Linked DNA regions of Homo sapiens: regions 1, 3, 4 and 5 are each linked to region 2. Evidence: promoter capture Hi-C in human tissues and cell types (Jung and others, 2019). All regions are on one chromosome and are shown on one strand. Each heading gives the region's core, a stretch centred on a gene start or on the middle of the fragment in contact. The rest is flanking DNA. Distances are from core to core; before and after follow the strand shown.

Evidence for each region. The method cuts DNA at HindIII sites, captures the fragments that hold promoters and counts their contacts. A contact is called where the count stands out against the background at its distance.
Region 1: a fragment that was not itself captured here is called in contact with the fragment with the promoter of WDR4 in region 2 in 2 of the 25 tissues and cell types used here (hippocampus and spleen).
Region 3: a fragment that was not itself captured here is called in contact with the fragment with the promoter of WDR4 in region 2 in 1 of the 25 tissues and cell types used here (lymphoblastoid cells).
Region 4: a fragment that was not itself captured here is called in contact with the fragment with the promoter of WDR4 in region 2 in 3 of the 25 tissues and cell types used here (lymphoblastoid cells, mesendoderm cells and spleen).
Region 5: the fragment with the promoter of SIK1 here is called in contact with the fragment with the promoter of WDR4 in region 2 in 6 of the 25 tissues and cell types used here (hippocampus, lymphoblastoid cells, mesenchymal stem cells and 3 more).

The regions. Positions count from the first base shown.
Region 1 is chr21:42,225,948-42,228,647 of GRCh38, reverse strand. The region is part of intron 2 of ABCG1 (ATP binding cassette subfamily G member 1); the gene reads right to left. Among named protein-coding and RNA genes, the nearest start is that of ABCG1, 8.2 kb to the right of the region's middle. RefSeq lists enhancers at 1-232, 423-472. The HindIII fragment of the contact is 8,263 bases long and covers 1-2,700 here.
Region 2 is chr21:42,878,260-42,880,959 of GRCh38, reverse strand. It overlaps WDR4 (WDR4 tRNA N7-guanosine methyltransferase non-catalytic subunit), which reads left to right and starts at 1,421. Exons shown (of 11, transcript NM_018669.6): 1 at 1,421-1,553. The coding sequence starts at 1,465. LOC105372817 (a long non-coding RNA gene) reads right to left here and starts at 1,248. Exons shown (of 4, transcript XR_937765.3): 1 at 1,205-1,248. RefSeq lists enhancers at 1,169-1,518, 1,589-1,698, 1,729-1,778, 1,431-2,395, 2,396-2,700. The HindIII fragment of the contact is 11,595 bases long and covers 1-2,700 here.
Region 3 is chr21:43,762,920-43,765,619 of GRCh38, reverse strand. No RefSeq gene overlaps it. Among named protein-coding and RNA genes, the nearest start is that of CSTB, 12 kb to the left of the region's middle. RefSeq lists enhancers at 181-926, 927-1,672. The HindIII fragment of the contact is 5,686 bases long and covers 1-2,700 here.
Region 4 is chr21:43,637,459-43,640,158 of GRCh38, reverse strand. The region is part of intron 4 of HSF2BP (heat shock transcription factor 2 binding protein); the gene reads left to right. Among named protein-coding and RNA genes, the nearest start is that of HSF2BP, 21 kb to the left of the region's middle. The HindIII fragment of the contact is 7,158 bases long and covers 1-2,700 here.
Region 5 is chr21:43,425,881-43,428,580 of GRCh38, reverse strand. It overlaps SIK1 (salt inducible kinase 1), which reads left to right and starts at 1,450. Exons shown (of 14, transcript NM_173354.5): 1 at 1,450-1,571; 2 at 2,389-2,558. The coding sequence starts at 2,403. The HindIII fragment of the contact is 13,239 bases long and covers 1-2,700 here.

The DNA of each region.
Region 1 (2,700 bases), core at 201-2,700, 650 kb after region 2:
CAAGGCATGGCCACTGTGTCGGAGTGCACAGAGCTAGAAATTGCTGTCCTCATCCCAGCCCTGCCCCTTTCAAGCCCAGGAGCATGGGCAAGTCCCTTAACCACCTTTGTCTCAGTTTCCTTTCTATTCTGTGTGCTGGAGTGATAAACCATCTAGACTCTGAATTGTAGGCACCAGGAACAAAGGAAAGGATGGGGCAGGCAGGGGAGGAGGAGCAGGGAGAGGGAAGACAGACGCAGGTGCTGCTGTGGCTGGGGAGGGCAGTGGGTAGGAAGCCAGACAGCAAAACTACCCTTGGCCCCTGCAGAAACCAGCAGCTGGAACACAGCAGACATATCCTGTCTGTCAACCCCTCTGGCTCCACCCATTTCTGAGTCATGGGCAGGTCCCTCGGCGGCCCATTGCAGGCTCTTCCCCTGCCTGAGCACACAAGGTTACTGTAGGGCAAGTCTCTATCTGGTGGCCACCCCGCCCGGGCTGCGCTCCTAAGAATGGACAGTTGGGGCTCCTCCCTCACTACAAGCCATTACCAGCTGGCTAACTGTGATGATTCATGTGATCAGTTTAAACACTTAGAGAATATAGGGGTGACAAGTCACATACTGGGTGATGTGGTTTGGCTCTGTGTCCCCACCCAAATCTCATCTTGAATTGTAATCCCCACGTGTCAAGGGAGGGACTGGGCGAGAGGTGTGATTGGATCCTGGGGGCGGTTCCCTCATGCTGTTCTCATGATAGTGAGGGAGTTCTCATGAGATCTAATGTTCTAAATGTGTGTGGGTTCTTTTATGCTCTCTCTCTCTCTCTCCCCTCACCCCATGCCACCATGTAAGACATGCCTTGCTTCCCCTTCACCTTCTGCCATGATTGTAAGTTTCCTGAGCCCTCCCCAACCATGCCAAACTGTGAGCCAATTAAACCTCTTTCCTTTAAAAATGACCCAGTCTCAGGTAGTTCTTTATAGCAGTGTGAAAATGGACAAACACACTGGGTAGGGGAGCGATACTCACTGCTTGCAAACACTGGCTACACCTGTGTGCCAGGCTTATGCCAAGACATTTCAAACCCAGATGCCACCAGGTTTCAGATGTCTTCATTTCTGCATTACAACCCATCTTCATTTTACAAGACACCTTTCCCAGCATTTTCTACTGTCATGACAACATTTCCAAGGCCACACATAACAGACGGACAGGAATCGCTCTATGTTGCTCACTGCTTTGCCATAATTTGTCTATATAGACAAACGACGCCAAAACATGACGCGGTGTCCTGGTTTCTTGATACATTTTTCTATAAAATATTTCTTTAAGTTGAGAAGGAGAATTCTAGAACCCTATGTTGAAATTTCAACATGATCAAAGGAGTGGGCCCACATCTGAGCCTGCCACAGAGCTGCTTTCTTAACAGAACAGGCTGGTATGCTCTGAAAATGCAAGTATCACATCACAGTGCTATACTGTTGTCTGTTGAGAAGGTACTGAATCTGTTTCTGCTTGTGCAAACACAGACATACAGTTACCCAGCCACCAACTGGGCTTGCAGATCCCAGGGACCAGTCTTTCAAAGCTCTAAAATTGTGATTACAATGAAGATGGGACTGCCCATGCTAAGGGTCTCAAAGACTTAGCTTCAAGAGGGTAGAAAAACAAAAAGAAGATAATAGGGAAAAGAAGAAAGACAACTGAAAATTTAAAACGTGAGTCTTGATTGGTCTTCTTCAAAATGAAAGAAGGGCTGAATCCAGTTTTAAGTTCAAAGTCCTAAAATATTAGCATATTCCAGGGGTACCTGAGTCATTTGTATTGTTCCAAAGTCCTCCCAGATTTTCAAATTGCTTTCCATGATTCAGTAGAAACTAGGGACCATGGTTTCTTGATGAAGTCTGACACGTCCTCTGCCTATCAGCTCCCCCAACCCACCTGTCTGATCCACTTAGGAGCAGACAATGAGTGCTTGGAGCATAAGGAGATGAAGGATAAATTCCACAGAAGAAACAGATCAGGCTTGAAAAAAACACACCAACCCAGGGCGGCATTAACTCCACAAACTGTGAAACTCTAGAGCTAGGGAAGGTTGCTGAGAAAACTCAAACTACCACTCATCAATTTCCTGTAACATGCAACAAGCTAGTGGCAAACTCCTGCACTGTGTGGCGTTCCAGACACCTCCTGAGCTCTATCCTCTCTGTTTTTTCTATTTTTATGTATCAGCTCTTTTCAACAGTTTAGTTTTCTTTCTAGCCTACCACAACCACCCACAAAAGAATCCTTTCAAGATGGGTCTCTGGAGAGGTCAGTCTAGGTCACTGGCCACTTTTTAACACTTCACGCTTGGGAGGGGGGCACCTGTCCCCCATTTTGCTCTGGGCGGTTGAAAAACAGTTCCATCTTGAAAGATGGACATGAACAGCATCCACAAAAGAGGACTCTCTCAGCACATGCCAGAAACAGGCACACTTTGACACCCGTCAATCTTTGTGAAATTCTCCATAATGACATCGCAGAATTTCAGAGCAACCATGAACTTTGAGATCACCAAATCCAACCTGTTCATTTTATAGGAGAGGAAAATTCAGGCAGAAAGCAATAGAATAAATTGACCACAGCAGTGACGGCGTTGGGAAGAGAAGCTCAGCCTCTCAACCTCCAGACCCCGATTTTGCCCAAACAACCTGTTGCCTCCTTCAGAGGCTCCTCC
Region 2 (2,700 bases), core at 172-2,671:
AGACTCCGTCTAAAAAAAAAAAAAAGACTAGTGGGAGTGGCTTCTTGGGCATGGAGAGCACCTGAATCAGATTCTTGAGAAGCCCATAAAGCTTTTAAGGGACTTGTAGTGAACAAAGCACCACCAGCTGCCAAAATGTGGACAGAACAGTTTAGAGTGAAAAAAGGTCTGTGGGCTCACAATTTGCTAATGACAGGAAGGAGGTTGAGAAAGTTTCTCAAAGGGCACATTCTTCAACATGGCCAAGAAGGTGCTGGAAAAGGAGGGACACCCAAGAGGGCAGAGGCAAGAGCTGTGCTGAGATACAGCCTGGGGAGATACTCCCAGGAAGCAGAACTCGGGCCTGGTTAAGACTTCTTATTCTTGTAGGGCCTGAAAACATCTTCCAGTAGGATTTCAGAATTGCTTTGGACCAGTGATTACTGTGTCTCCTCCTCTTCTCATTTTCACATGCAAGTATTTATTGTGGTTATCTGGTCCCGGCTCACCATCATATATTGCGTGCACGGGAGAGAAAATTAATCTTTTTAGTTTGTAAGTCTCTGGATCAAGAGGAGCTGCACCGGACAAGCCAATCTAAAACAGACCGTGAGATCCTAGATTTTGTGCCTGATGCTGGGATTGTAAGAGGCTTTTGGGGATCTTGGGATGAACACTGGAAACTAACCATAGTTTGGGTTGAAAATATCACTACAGTTCGGAGATTTTAAGGCATCTGTGGCTTGTCTAAGTGCAAAGATTCAGTAGGCTTACTTCTAGCGACCTCAGACTTGACGCCACCCGAGACACCCTCACCCATGACCACATCTTGGACATTTTTTTTTTTTTTGAGAGAGAGTCTCGCTCTGTCGCCCTGGCTGGAGTGCAGCGGGGGCGATCTCGACTCACTGCAACCTCCGCCTCCCGGGTTCAGGCAATTCTTCTGTCTCAGCCTCCCAAGTAGTTGGGGCTACAGTCGCACGCCACCACGCCCAACAAATTTTTGTACTTTTAGTAGAAACGGGGTTTCACCATATTGGTCAGGCTGCTCTCGAACTGCTGACTTCATGTGAGCCACGGCCCCCGGTTCATTCACTTCTTGAAGGATCATTTACCAGGCATCTAGTAGCCATCATCAGGTCCTACGTCTCTCCAGCTACCGCGGAAAAAGATCCAGAACCAGCCCTACCCCGTCTAGAGGAAAGGATGAACATTAGGCAAGTACTTGGAATCGTGCGAAGTGCACTCCATCAGATCACCTTGGTGAGTGAACTGCCAAACCCGAAACACCGAAGGCCACCAGCCACAACCCGGAGGGCGGTCACAGCACCTTTCACGCATGCTCAAGGCAGGCTCGTCCTTGAGCATGCGCGGTACGTGGGGTATACGTCATCTCTCGGCGTCTGCGCCTGGCGTCACCGACCGGTGCGGACAGGAAGAGGCTCTGGGCTGGCACATGTGTATGGCGGTGAGGCGGGCGGGTACATGGCGGGCTCTGTGGGACTGGCGTTGTGCGGGCAGACGTTGGTGGTGCGGGGCGGCAGCCGATTCCTGGCCACCTCCATAGCAAGCAGGTGAGGGGGCCTTGGTCTTGGAACAGGGAGACCAGGCTGCGGGCGCGCGTCGGGTCCTGGCGACCCCGCTTCTCCCGCACCGCCTGGTCGCACCCACTCTGGGGTGACCCCGGGGAACTCCGCTCCAGCCCACGAGTCCTCCGCCGCAGTCTCGGCCTGGCCGCGTCTCTGCGCCTGGAGGGTCCGCTTTCGCCGTCCGCTCTCGGCGTCCGCTCCCCGGCTCCGGCGCGCTCCTTGCACTAGATGGCTGGTCTGCGGTGTTCTTGCCCGGTTAGCGCCGCCGGGTCGCTTCCGGTCTCCGCGGCGCCGGCGGGGACCGGGTAGGTAGAGCACGTGGGGCGACGCTGACCAGTCAGCAAGGCCCGGCCGAACACGCTCTGCAGAACTGGGAAGAAGCGGGTCTCGGGTCTCCCTGGTGAGAAGGGAGGGGCTTACTCACTGCGAGCTCACTGACCTCCAAGCGCGCTCCCTCTTTTTGCAGGGTTGTCTGTTCCCTCTTCCCGGCCTGCATCCACTCACCTGGCCTTAATTGCTCCTTAGGGCTCCAAGTCATCTCCGACACTTACCCAACCCAAGGGTGCACGTGGAGCTCGCAGTGCGCACCTCCCTAGTGGCCCTTCGCACGGCTCGGGTTTTGCTTTCCGTAATTTTATTCTCCTTCCTTAGTGTATCGCCAGTGCTAGGACGACGCAGGGGATTTTTAACTTAGTAAATGTTTGTTGATGGAACAGTCCTAACTCAGGACTCTCGGAGCAATTAGTAGTGCTGTCAGTTTCAGCCCCTCGTTTCCTTTCCCAGGTTATTTGTGATTTCATATTTGAAACGGACGACGTGTCTGTCAGATATACTGTATATTTTTTGTTCGTTTGGTTTTAGAAAGCCAATTCGATGTTAAGTTAGGTCTCACAAAAATTGTACTCAGAAACCCGTCACATATCCCAGATGATTTTGTTTTAGAGACTCACGGTCTAATATCTGCCAGAGTGAGCTGTGGATATATTAGACATGATTTGCTTACCTTCAGTCTTTGCATTTTGAGGAAATTCTAGTGGCTGGTGGAGTTTCTGACTTGGAAGACAAGTCCACGGTTCCATATGGAAAGTTTTTTGGTGCACTCGCTTTAAAGGCTATAAATATGTACAAGATA
Region 3 (2,700 bases), core at 194-2,693, 880 kb before region 2:
AAGTCCTGGGATTACAGGCATGAGCCACTGCACCTGGCCTAATAAAGTCACATTCTGAAGTGCAGGGTGGACGTGAGTTTTTGCAGGACATCAATGAATTTGGGGGGACACCTGTCCAGGCTTAGGGTGGACCTTTTTGCAGGACATCATTGAATTTGGGGGGGACACCTGTCCAGGCTCAGTGTCCTCAACAGTGCTGCCTTTATAATCACAGCCTGAACTGTACCCTTCAAATGGCTGAGTCATATGGAATGAATTGTAACTCAATAAAGCTGTTACCAGAAAAAACAGAAATAAGAGCCAGGAGTGGTGGCTCACGCCTGTAATTCCGGCACTTTGTGAGGCCGAGGAGGAAGGATCACTTGAGCCCAGGAGTTCGAGACCAGCCTGGGCAACATGGCAAGACCTCATCTCTACAAAAAAATTGTTTAATGAGCTGGACGTGGTGGTGTGCCTGTGGTCCAGCTACTCGGGAGCCTGAGGCGGGAGGATGGCTTGAGGCCAATTGCTTGGACAGAAGTTGCTGTGAGTTGAGATCACACCACTGCACTCCAGCCTGGGTGACAGAGTGAGAACCTGTCTGGAAAAAAAAAAAAAAATAGAAATAAGGAAAGAGAAGTCTGTCTCCCATCCCTTCCCCCAGCTCTTTGGCAGGGGCACGGGCTTGGTGGGAGCTGGCATGGATGGGGGCATGAGCAGGGCAGTGCGCAGGGGCCTGGGCCGGCCTCGTGGAGGTGACGGCTGTTTCAGGGCCAGCCTGAGTCCGCACCTTGTGAGGGAATCTCCTCAATGCAGTAATTTAGGCAGAATTCCAGCTGGGGTGAGGTGGCCTGTAATCCCAGAGGCCTCCGGAAAGTGCAGCCTACCGGATGCTGGCCAGGCCCGGCCTGTCCCCACAAGTGTCTTGGAAAGGCCCTACCAGGGTGGAGGACACGGGTGGCAGCAAACCCTGAAGGTCAGTCCATCCCAGCGAGTGTGTGACAGGTGTTCACTGGGGCCAAAGGAAGACCCCGAGCCCCAGGGAGGTGTCAACAACCACACTCTGCTGGTGGTGTCCCCAGAGAAGCCCCGGGAGCCTAACTGCCCATGAGGTTCCTTCTCTCCCTTCCCAGCCTCCCTCCATCTGCCGTCCCCACCCCCACGCCACTGGAGCCCAGCCCCTTTCCTAGGAACCCAGATTTGAAGCCCTAAGCCAGCATGGCCTCAAGGGCAGGTCCTGGACTTGAGGCCGGCCTTTCCCACCCATCGGGGGAAGAAGGCCCAGCCAGAGTCCTCACAATGGCTGAGGCTTCAGGGCCGAGCATGTTTGCTGCTGGATATTTGGCTCAGACCCTCGGAGGGGGAGATGACCAAGCCAGCACATGCCCCACCCCTGGACACGCCACAGCAGTTCCAGCTTGGAGGCTAACCCACCCTGTTGTTGTCTGATGAACCCCAGTTCTAGGAAGGCCTCTCAGATTTTCAGCTCATCTATTGTTCCTTGTGTAAAGGCAGGTACTTACCCTAAATCCTGCCCTTAGGGCAAATGACTGGGATGCTGTCTGCTTCAACTGTCCAGCACATCCCTTCTGAACCACACGCACCCCTCCCCTACGGTACATAAGCCCTAGGCTTGGGGGTGATGGGTGGGCCCCAGACACAGACATGGCTTCTGTTCCGAAGTCCCTATTAAATGTTTCTTTCTGAGAAACTGGATTGGGCAGCTTCTTCTTCTTCTTCTTTTTTTTTTTTTTTTTGAGATGGAGTCTTTGCTCTGTTTCCCAGACTGGAGTGCAGTGGTGCGAACTCGGCTCACTGCAACCTCCACCTCCGGGGCTCAAGCGATTCTCCTGCCTCAGCCTCCCGAACAGCTGGGATTACAGGCGCCCGCCACCATGCCCAGCTAACTTTTGTATTTTTAGTAGAGATGGGGTTTCACCATGTTGGCCAGGCTGGTCTTGAACTCCTGACCTCGTGATCCACCTGCCTCAGCCTCCCAAAGTGCTCGGATTACAGGGCTGAGCCACTGCACCTGGCCAAGGGCAGCTTCTTTCTTCGGCCTCTCTGCTTCCTTGAACTTCGGGATAGGTCTGCATAGGCCCCCACTGCTGCAGAACACACTCCATCCCTCGTCACCAGACGTGGTGGGCTGAATCATGGCCCTCAAAGAGGTCCACATCTTCATCCTCAGACCCTGTGAATTTGTGACCTTACCTGGCAAAAGGGACTTGCAGGTGGGATTAAATTCAGGTTCCTGAAATGAGAGATGACCCTAAATTATCTAGGTAGGTCCAAAGTCACACAGGGTCCTTCTAAGAGAAAGGGCGGAGGTCAGGGTCAGGGAGAGGTGGAAAGATGTGACACTACTGGCTTTGGTGATGGAAGGGGCCATAAGCAAGGGGATGCAGGCGCCCTCCAGATACTAAAAAAGGCAGGAAACGGATTCAGCCCCTCTAAGCCTCCAGGAGGAACCAGCCCTGCTGACTGTTTTTAGACTCTTCTGGCCCCTGCAACTGTAAGAGAACAAATGTGTTCCTTTAAGCCACTCAGCTTGTGGAAATTTGTCACAGTAGCCTCAGGACATTTTCATGCCAACCAGGATTAGGCCCGTAGGCCCAGAGTAGCCACTGCAGGGGACAGGAGCACTGCAGGCAGCAGTGTGCTAGACGCGGAGCAAATCCCATAAACGAGGCAGCAGACACCCTGCCCCGGCCGCCCCGT
Region 4 (2,700 bases), core at 84-2,583, 760 kb before region 2:
CAGCTAATTTTTAATTTTTTTTGTAGAGACAGGTTCGCTATGTTACTCAGGCTGGTCTTGAACCCCTGGGCTCAGTTGATCCTTTGGCCTTGTCCTCCCAAAGTGCTGGGATTACAGGCATGAGCCATGGGTGCCTGGCAGAGACTGACTTTCACTCAGATACATCCAAGTTGCATGTATCGTTAGATATTTTTATTGCCTCATATTCCATGGTATGTATATGTTGCAATTTGTTTGCAATATGTTGTAATTCCTCCACTGAAAGAAGTTTGAATAGTTCTTACGGTTTTTTTTTCTATTACTGATAAAGACACTAGTAACATCCATGTATAGGTTTTTGTGTGAATGTGTGTCTTTATTTTTGTGTGATAAATGCCCGAGAGTACAATTACTGGGTTGTATGGTAAGTGCACATTTAGTTTTGGAAGAAATTGCCAAATTGTTTTCCAGAGTGTCTGTACCATTTTAGAGTCCCACCAAAATGTATGAGTGATTCACTTTCTCCATGTCCTAACCAGTATTTGGTGTTATTCTATTTTGAATTTTAGTCATTTTGATAGGTTTGTTGTGGTTTTAATTTGCATTTCCCTAACAGCTAATGATGTTGAGCATCATTTCATGCATTTATTTTCTGTCTGTGTATTCTCTTTTATGAAATGTTTTTTTCGTGTCTTTTACCCATGTTCTAATTGGATTTTTTCTTTTTTTACTTTTGCGTTTGAGCTCTTGATATATTCTAGATAGAAGTCCTTTGCTGAGTATATGTTTTGCAAGTCTTTTCTCCCAGTCTGTAGCTGCTCTTTTCATCTTCACAGGTTCTTTCAAAAAGCGAATGTTTTAAATTTTAATGAAGTCCAATTTACTGATTTCTCCTTTTATAGACTGTTTTCTTGTTGTTATGTCTAAGAATTTTTCACATAGCTCTAGGTCACCACAATTTTCTCCCATTCTTTTTTCTTAATGGTTTTATAGTTTTACATTTTACATTTAAGTCTATGATTCATTTTGAGTTAATTTTTGTAGAAGGTATGAGGATTAAGTTCAAGTTAATATTTTTTTCTTTGGCTTATCGTTGTCCAGTTGCTTCAGCACTGTTTCTCAAAAAGACTCTCTCTCCTTCATTGAATTGCTTTTGCACCATTGTCAAAATTCAGTCATACTGGCCTGGGTCTGTTGTGGGTTCTCTACTCAGGTACTTTGATCTGTTCCTGCACCAATAATACATTATTCTGATTACTGTAGCGACATAGTAAGCCTTAACACTGGATAAAATGATTCTTCCCATTTCATTCCTCTTTTTCAGAGTTGCCCTAACTATTCTAGCTTCTTTGCTTTTCCGCATAAATTTTAGAGTAAGCTTGTTTATGTCTACAAAAACCTTGCTGGAATTTTAATAGAAATTGTGGTACGTTTGTAGATCAGTTTGTAGAGAATTGATATCTTTACTATGTTGAATCTTTCAATTCATAAACATAGCATGTCTCTCCATTTCTTTAAGTTGTCTTTAATTTCTTTCATCAGCAGTTTACAATTATTTTCAGCATCTAGATTTGTGTTAGATTTTTACCTAATTATTTTCAGCATACACATTTGTATTAGATTTTTACCTAAGTATTTAATTTTATTTGGAGTAACCGTAAATGGTATTGTGTTTTTAATTTTGGTTTCCATTTTTTAATTAGCACATAGAAATGTGGTTGCTTTTTGTTTGTTTATCTTGTCCCCCAGGCTGGAGTGCAGTGGTGTGATCGCAGCTCACTACAACCTCTGCCTCTCAGGTTCAGGCAATTTTCCTGCCTCAGCCTCACGAGTAGCTGGGATTACAGATGTGCGCCACCATGCCTGGGTAATTTTTGTATTTTTAGTACAGACACAGTTTTACCATGTTGGCCAGGCTGGTCTCGAATTCCTGACCTCAAGTGATCCGCCTGCCTTGGTCTCTTGGTGCTGGGATTACAGGTGTGAGCCACCGCACCCGGCCCCTGTAGTCTTTCTGAACTCTTTTTGACTTCTAGGAGTTCTTTTATGGATTTCTTGAGATTTTCTACATGGACAATCATGTCATCTGAAAATAGGGGCTGTTCTAGTTCTTCATTCTGCTTTGTATACCTTTTATTTCTTCCTCTTTCCTTCTTGCGTAGCCAGGCCTTCCAGCACTACAGCACTGTGCTGAATAAGAGTGGTGAGAGTGGATATCTTTGCCTTGTTCCTGATCTCAGGGGAAAGTATTCAATCTTTCAGCGTTAATTATGATTTTAGCTGTAGGTTTTTGCAGATGCGTTTATAAAATTGAGAAGGTTCCCCTCTATTCCTAGTTTGCTGAGTTCCTTTTTTCTTTCTTTTTTTTTTTTCCAGAGACAGGGCCTCACTCTGTAGCCCAGGCTGGAGTGCAGTAGTGTGATCAAAGCTCACTGCAGCCTTGAACTCCTGGGCCCAAAGGATCCAATTGCCTGAACCTCCTGAGTCTATAGGCATATGCCACCATACAGCTAATTTTTTTTTTTTTTAAGTTTTTGTAGAGATAGGGTCTTGCTGTGTTGCCAAGGCTGGTCTCCAAGTTCTCTCTCTTGTCAAGTGAACCTCCCACCTTGGTTCCTTAAAATGCTGGGATTACAGGCATGAGCCACTGGGCCTGACTGAGAATTTTTATTTATTTATTTATTTATTTATTTTTATAATTACTGAGTGTTGGATTTTGTC
Region 5 (2,700 bases), core at 201-2,700, 550 kb before region 2:
TTAGTTCTCCTAGGAGCGGATTAACAGGGTGTTGGGACCTCCAAAAGGAAAAAAGGCAGTTGTACACTGTTCAGCTGAAAGGAACTAAAAATATTCCCCCGTATTCTTGGTATATAAACCTGGGACAAAGAAAAACACTCTGAACGATTAAGGAAAACTTTGGGACTCTTCATTTCCTTGAAAGCCTTTGAAAACCAACTGACTCCCAAACAACCCGTGTGTGTGTGTGTGTGTGTGTGTGTGTGTGTGTGTGTGTGGCGATTGGGAAATCTGTGGTCAGACCCTCGGGCGAATGAGGAGAAGCTCATCCTCGTTTCTCCGGGCCCTCCTCCCAGGCGTCCGTCCAGGCAGGAAAGCCTCCCGAGAAGGGTTCCAAGTTTTGTGCCAACTCCCCTGAATTCTCGTTCCCCCTTCTGTGAAGTAGTGTTATTTAACACAAGGAAAACTGACCCTAGGCTCGATCCAGAATCTAACTCCCAAATGGGTCCTCAGGCTTAAAAAATACCTTCGCCCACAGCCTCTGTCTCCCCTGAAGAAAACGTTTTCCGTTCGGATGAGGCATCGGCCACGGGCAAGCAAGTGGTCCCGCGCCCCCGTCCCCTACCCAGGCGGCCGGCCTGGCTCCGTCACCGCCCGCAGCGTCCGCCCGGGGCCCGCGCGGGAAGAGGGTCCCAGCCCCACATGCTGCGGGGGCAGCCCCGGGACGCGCAGACGCCAGCGCCGCTGAGGGCCGGGGCCGGGACCGGCCGCGCGGCGGGGGCTTCCAGAGCGGCCGGTCACGCTTCCTTAGGTTTCAAGTTTCTAACTTGCTGAACATTTCAGATTTTAACAGCAAAAGCGGCTGACGTCCCCGCGGGCAAGCGGCCTCTCGGGGTCTGCAGCGCCCCAGGGCATCCGCGCCGCCAGCCCCACGCGCGAGCCCGCGAGGCCCCCGGGCCCCCGCACGTCCCGAGGCTCTGAGTCTGGACGAACGCAGGCCGCGTGGAGGGGCCGGCGACCCCTGCCCGAGAGCCGTCCCCTCCTGGAGGGAGCGAGCACAAGGCGCCCGCGGGACCCGGCCCGAGTGCCCGAGCGTGGAGGGGCGGGCGCGCCCTCGGCGGTGGGGCCGCCCGCAGTGCCCCCAGCGCCCGGGAGGGGGCGCCCGGCGGAGCGCAGGCGGGCGGGCCTCGGGCGGCGGGCGCCCCTGACGTCACCGGCCCGCGGTCGCCAGGGCAACGGCCTCATCCCGCGCGCGTCAGAGCCGCCAGTCTCTTGGCAACCGCCCGATCTCCCGCTCTCCCTCCGCCCGGCGCTCGGCCGCGCGTCGCTCTGGCGTCAAAGCGACGTCAATGGGCGGCCCCCGCCCGGGCGGCGGGGGCGGGGCAGGGGGCGGGGACTACGGGGGGCGGGCCGGGGCGGGCCGGGGCGGGGCCGGGCGCCGCGTGCGGCGGAGCGCGGCGGCTCCGGGCTGACATGCGGCGCGGCCCCGGAGGCAGCAGCAGCGGCGGCGGCAGCCGGAGCAGTAGGCACCCGAGCAGCGCCAGCGGCCGAGCGGGCGGCTTCCTGGCCTGGGCGCTCCGGTGGCGGCGGAGGTGAGGCGGCGGCAGCGGCGGCAGCGGCGGCAGCGGCGGGCTCCGGGCGGGCGGAGGTGGCCGCCGTGGGGGCTCCGCGCGGGCGCCGGGCCGGGGCTCGGGGTTGCAGCCACCGCGCAGGGTCCCTGGCCTTGCGCGCGCGGGGTTCGCGGGCGGGGTTGGCGGCCTGGCCGCCCTCGGGCTCCCCTTTGTTGGGGGGCCGGGGTAGGAGTGAGTCCGCGGGGCTCAGGGGCTGGGGAGCCGGGGGTCAGGTTGGAGCCGACCGCGGGCGGAGATACCGGGTGTGGGGGGCGGGTCCGCGATCCCCGAGGTGCCTGGGATGTCGGGGGTGGGGACCGGACGGATCGCGGGCGGCGGGGGCAGGGTGTGGGAGCGGGGCAGGGGACGGTCCTGGGATCCGGATCGAGCCGACCTCGGGTGGCAGGGCCAGGTGTGGGAGCGGGTCCGCGCCCAGAGGTGCTAAAGGGGTCGAGGGTGGGGACGGAACCGACAGCGGGCGGCGGGAGGCGAGTGTGGAATCCCGGCTCAGGGGGTCCCGGGATCGGGACGGAACCGGACTCGGGCGGCAGGGGCCTCTATGAGAGCGGGTCCGTGCGCCCCGCGGGGCTCAAGAGGGTCGGGGGTCCGGGTGGAGCGGGCGGCGGGGGCGGGTCCACACCTCCCACGGGGCTGGAGGGGCCCGTGGATAGAGTGGGGGCGACAGGCGTGGGAGCAGGTCCCTGCGTCCCGTGGGGACTGGGGGCTCCGCGGGCACGGATGGAGCCGACCGCGGGCGGCGGGGGCGCTGGTGGGCTCTGAGCTCTGTGCGGCCCCGCAGGTGCGCGCGGAGCCATGGTTATCATGTCGGAGTTCAGCGCGGACCCCGCGGGCCAGGGTCAGGGCCAGCAGAAGCCCCTCCGGGTGGGTTTTTACGACATCGAGCGGACCCTGGGCAAAGGCAACTTCGCGGTGGTGAAGCTGGCGCGGCATCGAGTCACCAAAACGCAGGTGCGTGGGGGCGGTGGGACCCAGCCGGCGGGGCCTCCCCACTGGACCCGGGGCGACCCGACCTTTGGCGGGTGGACCCCATGCAGATTCACTGCTCCAGGCTTGATTGTCGTGGTGGGTAAATAGTAACCGTTTTTAGTTC